2 separate regions of the Homo sapiens genome follow, and region 2 is linked to region 1. The links are contacts of gene promoters, found by promoter capture Hi-C in blood cells and fetal thymus (Javierre and others, 2016). All regions are on one chromosome and are shown on one strand. Each heading gives the region's core, a stretch centred on a gene start or on the middle of the fragment in contact. The rest is flanking DNA. Distances are from core to core; before and after follow the strand shown. Region 1 holds the start of MALRD1-AS1 (MALRD1 antisense RNA 1). Region 2 has its middle 7.6 kb from the start of PLXDC2.

Region 1 (4,134 bases), core at 1,043-3,542:
GTGTGTGTTTGTATGTGTGTGCATATGTGTGAAAAGATATAGTTCACCCTTGCCACTTACCTCTGTTTTCTCTGGGTTGCTCCAGTTCCCGTAAACTGGATTGACAAAGGCACAGTTACCACTTCCCTCGGTTTTCCTTAAAGCACACAGGGCCATCAAAAATAAAAAACTATTGACATTTACCATAGTACATTTTCAGGTTATTGTTTGTTAGAAACTTTTGAGAGACATGTTGTCTAGCCAGCACACTTATTTTCATGAATGTATTACCATAAGTAAAGTTTGTTTTTTATTTTTTATTTTTTGCAGGACACCAAGGCAACCACATTCAGGAAAGCAAATGTAATTTGAACTCTGAGTGTTTAGATCCAAATAAACTCAGGCAAATAAAAGAAATTGCAAAAGTTAGTCTTAATGTTGATTTCTTAAAATATTACTCAGTGCAAAGTGTCCAACATTAGAAAGAACAATGTAATATGAAGCTGTACTAGTGATAAAGAAAGGCCATCTTGAAGTCCTTTACACTGCACAGTGCCAAACCACTACATCCTGAAGACTGTTTTCCATGACAGTATCTGTCATAAAGATCTGTAGCACATGAGTCATAGTCTTTAACATTTTAATCAGCAAATTTAAATACAACTGTTTTGAAAAGTTCTTTAGGGTAGTGTTTCATGAAACTCAAAAACAGCAAGCCCTTGGTAATATCACATATTGGACTACATGTGCATAATTCACTATAATTAACTGGGCTCCATATGATTATTTTCCTTTTATACTTTACTTAAGAATTAATAGACTTATAGGCCGGGCGTGGTGGCTCACGCCTGTAATCCCAGCACTTCGGGAGGCCGAGGCGGGCGGATCACGAGGTCAGGAGATCGAGACCATCCTGGCTAACACGGTGAAACCCCGTCTCTACTGAAAATACAAAAAAATTAGCCGGGCGTGGTGGCGGGCGCCTGTAGTCCCAGCTACTTGGGAGGCTGAGGCAGGAGAATGGCGTGAACCCGGGAGGCGGAGCTTGCAGTGAGCCGAGATCGCGCCACTGCACTCCAGCCTGGGCCACAGAGCGAGACTCCGTCTCAAAAAAAAAAAAAAAAAAAAAAAAAAAAAAAAAGAATTAATAGACTTATTAGAAGACACGCAGCCCTGGACTACTTGGTGACAACTGATGAAGAAAAAATGTCCATCGTAGGAACAAAAAAAAGTAACCAAGAACTAAATACACACACACACACACACACACGAAAGGATCCTATACACACATGTGTACACACACACACACATAAGAAAGGATCCTATACATGCATGTGTACACACACACACACACACAATGGAGAATGGAAGACCAATTCCAGGATGATTGTTTTAAGAGCTTAATGACACGAGTAACAAATATATAATGTATGATAATTGTATAACACAATGTATAATGTATGTATAATGTATATTTTTTGCCTATTCAGGATACAGTGAAAATTAATGTTTGTCAGTAATATAATTCTAAATCCCAAAATAAAATGTAGCAAGAAGGGGGCTCTTACTGATTTGATTTCTGAAAACAAATTGCCATAGGCATAACTGCCTATTGTCATCTACCAAACCACATGGTCCTTTTCAAAGAAACTGCAGCATCAGTGAGCCTAACAGTCTAATCTAGCTAATTATGTTTGGCTGGCAATACATTGTCCCTGTGGATTCAGTGTCTTTTAAGCTTCCTGATCTCCACTGGCTTAAATATACAATAGATTAAATGTTTCACCCTCACCGCGGGTACATTTTGCTTATTGATGAATAGGGCCATATGCATCTATTTTGTGGGTTATTATTGAAAAAAGTCTGAATTGAGTCAACAAATATCTGTTAATTCCTTAAGCACTAATTGAATGCTTATTAGTTGCTCTGATTAATTTGAGTAAGTTGTGTTTGACTCTTTGCCTTTACTTTATTCAAGACTAGTCTATGTTAAATTCTCGGAGTAGTAATCTCAGTACATAGCATGGTTAGTGCATGAACTGAGCCAGGGATGATCTTGGAGTTGAGATTGGGTAGGGAGTGAAGTGTAGTTTTGAAATGCATCAAAATACCAAAGCAGGAAAAATTGGACATGGAAGTAGGGATGATCAAAACATAATAGAAATTAGGAACTAAGTAAAGATAAGACAGACACTGACACCAAGAGCTCAGAAAAATTAAGAGGCTGAAATCAGGCATGAAATCAGGAAGCAGGAGGAAACCCAAACCACAGGGCTAGACAGGACAGATGGTCAAAGCCTGAGCATACAACCAGGAGCTGAAGGGACCAGCTTGGCCGTCAGTTGCAAGGGTGTGAGGCAGAAGCAACACAAAAGATCTTGATATGAAGCAATTATTTTTGGTCTTAAACTGCTGGGACTCCAGATGACCCAGACCACGGTCAGCAGGCAGAAGCCAGGTAAATTTATATAATTCTCAGCTCTGTTAATTCAATTATTGAAGCTACTTGTCTTCTGAAAGGGTTTTAAGTCTGAAATAATTTTCTATTAAAATGAAAAAACATTTGAAGGTGTCTGGCCTTCAAGATTTGGGTAACTACAAAGAAGGAAGATGATATTTAAGAGTAAGGATGTGGAGTTGTAATAAAAGAAGAAAGGGTTTCAGTGTGAGTATTGGAAGGTGAGGAATGGCAAATCCTTCCTACTTCAACTTTTGTTTTTTAGTAGTCTCAAATTGCTTTTATTTTTCCTAGATTAAAGATATATCTCCCATTCTTGAAAATCCCTGGACTATTAGACTTAAATTTTAATGTCTTTCCTATTTATTTATAAGGTAAACTATTACACCGTCCACAGATTCTTCCATGAAGGAAATTGCTAGTGTCACTCTATACATTTAGTATTTCAAGTTCAATATTATGATTTTCCATTTTCATCAACTATGTCAATTTGACATTCAAACACAGGCAATTTTACTTAAAATGGTGGATCCTTACATGAGGGAAATAAAATGTTTGTTTCATTATAAAGTTTCCTGCCAGTTCTGAAACTCAATGGTGTAATGATGAGTCTTCATCAGGCCAAAAAAAAAAAAATGCAATGTTTGACTTACTGTATTTGTCAATATGCCGGTAGCTCTTAAGCAGTTGATTTTTTTTCCCCCAATGAATAAGTGAGTTGTAAGAATTGAGGTTCTAAAGAATATAACCACCTCTAGGAATAATGATGATAAAGGAACTGACTTAGAAATTTTGAGTAGAGGAAAGGAAGTTGCATGGATCATATAAGTTTTTCTCCCTTATCATGCATTCATATAAATTATTATTAAGTTTATCTTATATCCATTACGTGCAGATACTGTGCGAAGTGGCATTCTGAATGTGTGACAAGAGACCTAGATCAATGCAGAACTAAGATAATTCTGATGGCAGTTTCCAATTTTAATTTAGCGAGCATATTTATACTTCTAATGGAATTCACTTATTAACTGACAACATTGTTTTAGTGTTGATAAAAGCATGGAAGTGTTTATAATAGTCTGAAACTATTACAAATGGGAAAGGAGAAAAAAAGAATAAAACAAAAACCAATCTATGTTACATCCAGTAAACATGACTTCGAGGTGAATATTTTGTATTTTTATTTTTAACAGCTTTATGGAGCTATAAATCACATGCCATACAATTCACAAACTTAAAGTACACAATTCAATGGTTTTCAGTAATGTTACTTTTATTAATTTTTAATTTTTAAAACAGTGGTATATATCACATAAAATTTGCCATTTTAACCATTTCAAGTATACAATTCAATGCCATTAATTCCACTCACAGTGTTGTGCTACCATTACCACTATTTCCAAAATGTTTTTATAACTCTGAACTGAAGCTCCATGGCCAGTGAGCATTAACACCCCATTCCCCTCCAACCAATCCCAGGTAAATTCTGATTTACCTTCTGTCTTTATGAGACTCGAGGTACCTCACCTAAGTGGAATCATACAGTATTTGTCCTTTTGTGTTTGGCTTATTTCACTTAGCATAATGTTTTCAAGATTCATCCATATTGTAGTATGTATCAGAAGTTTAATCATTTTTATTGCTGAATAATATTCCCTTGCATGTATATGTCACATTTTGTTTATTCATTCACCTGT
Region 2 (4,384 bases), core at 1,170-3,669, 80 kb before region 1:
TGACACTATAATTAACTTTGTGAGAAAATGACAAACTGTTTTCCACAGTGGTTGCACCTTTTTACTTTCCTAACAATGCATGAGGGTTCAAATTTCTCCTCATCTTTGCAAATACTTGTTTTTCATTGAAAAAAAAACTACAGTGATCCCAGTTGGTGTGAAGTGGTATGACATTCTGGTTTTTATTTGCATTTCCCTGACGACTATTGATGGTAAGCATCTTTTCTTGGGCTTATTGAGCATTCATGTATCTTCTCTGGAAAAGATTCTCTCTAAACCCTTTCTCATTTTTAATTCGACTGTGTTTTTATTGTTGAGTTGTATGAATTCTCAACATAGTCTGGATGTTGGGCTCTTAAAGTATGTAGGATTTGCAAACATTTTCTGAAAGAAATGACATAATATGGGTTGTCTTTTCGCTTTCTTGATAGTGTTCTTTGATGCACGTTGTTTTTTATTTTGATAAAGCAAGATGTATATATTTTTCTTTGGTTACTTCTACTATAGGTGTCATGTATAAGAAACTCATGCCTAATCCAAGGTTGATTTATGCCTATATTTTCTCCTAAGAATTTTATAGTTTCATTTTCATATTTAGTTCTTTGGTCCATTTATGTAAATTTTTGTATAAAATGTGAGGAAGGGGACAAAAATTATTCTTTTGCATATGGACATACAATTGTCTCAGCCACTTGTTGAAAAGATTGTTACTGCATTGAATGATCTTGACATCATTGTTGAAAATCAGTTGGCCATAGACATATAGGTTTATTTCTGGACTCCCAATTCTATCCCATTAATATATATGTCTCTCCTTATACTACACTGTTTTGGTTACTGTAGCTTTTTGGTAAGAGTTGAAATAAGGAAGTGTGAGTCCTCTTGCTATGTTCTGTTTATCAAGATTGATTTAGCTAGTCTGAATCCTTTGCATTTTCATATAAAGTTTAGAATTCGCTTGTCCATTTCTCCAAAAGAGGCTGTTGGAATTTTGATTGGGATTTAATTGAACCTCTAGATTAATTTTGGGACTGTTGCCATCTTGACAATATGAAGTCTTCCAATCCATGAATGTGAGATGTCTTTCTATTAATTTTCCTCTTCTTTAATTTATTTCAATATTGTTATGTAGTTTTGTAGCTTCAATGTACTAGCATTGCACTTGTTTTGTTATATTTATTTCTAAGTATTTTATTCTTTTTGATGCTGTTATAAATGAAATCGTTTTCTTAATTACATTTGTAGATTTCGAATGGTTCTCATATTAGTTTGCTAGGGCTGCCACGACAAAACACCACTGACTGAGTGGTGTAAACACTCACATTTCTGGAGGCTAAGAGTCCCAGATCAGGGTGCCAGCAGTTTTGGTTTCTTCAGAGGCCTTACTTCTTGGCTTGTAAATGCTCATGTTCTCACATGATCATTTCTCTGTGTACACATCTTCCTTTTTATTCAAATTTTCTTTTACCATAAGGTCAGCAGTGAGATTGGATTAGGAACCACCATAATGGCCTCATTTTAACTTGAACACCTCTTTTAATGCTCAATTCCCAATTACAGGCACATTTTCGGGTTCTGAGAGTTAGGCCTTTAACATATGAGTTTGGAGGGGCACAAAATCCAGCATATACCAGTTAATAGATAGGAGTACAACTTATTTTTTGTTTATTAATCTTGCAAACTTGCCAATTGATTGGGATTTAATTGAACCTCTAGATTAATTTTGGGACTGTTGCCATCTTGACAATATGAAGTCTTCCAATCCATGAATGTGAGATATCCCCACATTCCCAATGCATTTATTATATCTAATAGTTTTTTACAGGTGTGAGAATTTCTTAGGGGTTTTTTTTAGGTATAAGATCTTCAAATATCTTTTTCTTTTGTCTTCCTTTCCCATATAGATAGATGCCTTTTGTTATATTTTCTTACCAAATTACCCTGGTTAGAACCTCTGGTACAATGTTAAATGGAAGTGTTGACAGTAGTTGTCTTGTTCTTGATGCTATAGGGAAAGCTTTAACTCTTTCACCATTAAACATGACATTAGCTGTGGAGTTTTCACTGATGCCCTTTATCAGGTTGAGCAAGATTCCTCCCATTCCTAGTTTATGAGTATATTTATCATGAGTGGGTGTTGGATTTTGCCAATTTTTTTTTCTGCATCAACTAATAAGATTGTGCATTTGTTTCTTTTATTCTATTGGTATGGCATATTACTTGGATAGATTTTGATGTGTTGAACCAATCTTATATACTCAAGAGAAATTCTACTTGGTCATGGGATATGGTCCTTTTTCTCAGATACTAAATTCAGCTTTCTAGCATTTTAAAAAAATTCTGCATCCATATATGTAAGGGGCATTAGTTTTTATTTGTCTTTTCTTGTGAGGTCTTTGCCAGGTTTTGGTATCAGGGTAATACTACCCTCATTAGAATGAGTTAGGAAGTGTTCCTTCTTCTTTACCTTTTGGAAACATTTGGAAAATATGTGTTAATTTATCTTTAATCTTTTAGTAGAATTCACCAGTGAAGCCATCTGGGTATGATTTTTTGTGTGTGTGGAAATTTTTTCTTTATTAATCTACTGTTTCTCTTTTTTATCAGTCTTGTCAGATTTTCTATTACTGTTTGAGCCTGTTTCGATATTTTCTTTGTCAGGAATTTTCCATTTGTTATCTAATTTATTAGTATACAATTGTGTATAATATTCTCATATAACAATTTTTATTTCTGTATGGTTGGTAGTAATGTCCACTTTTTCGTTTCTGATAACTTGGGTGTTCTGTCTTTTTTCTTGGTAAATTGAAGTAAAGCTTTGTCAATGTTGTTGATCAAAAACGAAGAGTTTTGTTGACATTCTTGATTGTTTTTCTATTCTCATTCTCTATTTCTTTTATTTCCACAATAATCTTTCTTGTTTACCGCCTATTTGCTTTAGGTTAGCTTACGTTTTTTTCTAGTTTCTTAAGGTGGAAAGTCAGGTCATTAATTTTAGATCTATTCTTTTTAAATGTAGGCATTTGTAGCTATAATTTTCTCTCTGAATACTGTTTTTGCTGCATCCCAAGTTTTGATATATTGTGTTTTTATTTCACTAATCTCAAAATATTTTCTAATTTCCCTTGTGATTTCTTCTTTTATCCATCAGTCATTTAGGAATGTGTTGTTTAATATCTATGCATCAGAGAATATCCCAAATTTTCTATATTATTGATTTCTAACTTTATTTCATTTTGGTCTGAGAACATATTTTGTAAGATGTCAAACCTTTTACATTTATTGAGACTTGCTGTATTGACTAATACATAGTCTCTTTTGGAGAACATTCAGTGAGCACTTGAGAAGAATATATTCTGTTGTTTCACAGATGTTCTACAGAAGTCCACAGACATAGAGAATGTTCTGCAGATGTCTCTGGTCTAGACGGTTTATAGGTTTGCACAAGTCTTCAGCAGTATGTTTAATTTTGTGTTTACTTGTTCTAACCACTATTTAATGTCTTCAACTATTATTTTTAACTGTCTTTTTATCTTTTCAATTCTTTCAGTTTGTCTTTATGTCTTTTATGCTCCATTGTTAACTGCATATATGTTTATAATTGTTATATCTTCTCAGAAGATTGACTCATAATTATAAAAAGTTCTTTTGATCTCTGGTAACAAGTTTTGTTTTAAAATCTTTTATTGTCAAATATTAGTATGGACTCTCCAGCTCTCTTGGTTACTCTTTAGATGGTATATGTTTTCCTATTCTTTTAATTTTTTTTGTGTGTCATTGAATCTAAATTTTGTCTCTTAGAGTTAGCATATAGATAAACTTTGTTTTAAAAAAATATATTATGCAATATCTTCCTGTTAATTGGAAAGTTTAATCCATTTAAATGTAATATAATTACTGATAAGGTAAGTATCATATTTGCAATTTTGTTATTGTTTTCTTTTTTTGTTGTTGTTTTTTGATGGAGTCTTTCACTCTATCACCCAGGCTGGAGTGCAGTGGCACCATCTTGGCTCACTGCAACCTCCATCTTCCAGGTTCAAGTGATCTCCTGCCTCTGCCTCCCAAGTAGCTGTGATTACAGATGTATGCCACCACACCCAGATGATTTTTGTGTTTTTAGTAGAGACAGGGTTTCACCATGTTGGCCAGGCTGGTCTTGAACTCCTGAACTCAGGTGATCCACCCGCCTCAGCGTCCCAAAGTGCTGGGATTACAGGTGTGAGCCATCATGCCCGACCAATTTTCTGTATGTATTTTTCCCCATTATTTCTGACTTATTTTGTGTTTAACAGATATATCTTCTAGCATACCATTTTAATTCTTGTGTTATTTCTTTTCTTTTATATTTTATTTTCCTAGCAGTTGTCCTGTGGATTATAAT

What was found. Contacts are between HindIII fragments. The CHiCAGO score rates a contact against its expected background, and 5 or more counts as called.
Region 2: a contact is called between a fragment that was not itself captured here and the fragment with the promoter of MALRD1-AS1 in region 1, in 1 of 17 cell types (megakaryocytes). The highest score is 5.1, in megakaryocytes.

Annotation. Positions count from the first base shown.
Region 1 is chr10:19,726,708-19,730,841 of GRCh38, reverse strand. MALRD1-AS1 (MALRD1 antisense RNA 1) reads left to right here and starts at 2,292. Exons shown (of 5, transcript NR_120646.1): 1 at 2,292-2,437. It overlaps MALRD1 (MAM and LDL receptor class A domain containing 1), which reads right to left. Exons shown (of 40, transcript NM_001142308.3): 39 at 61-136. The HindIII fragment of the contact is 5,040 bases long and covers 1,720-4,134 here.
Region 2 is chr10:19,806,647-19,811,030 of GRCh38, reverse strand. No RefSeq gene overlaps it. Among named protein-coding and RNA genes, the nearest start is that of PLXDC2, 7.6 kb to the left of the region's middle. The HindIII fragment of the contact is 799 bases long and covers 2,020-2,818 here.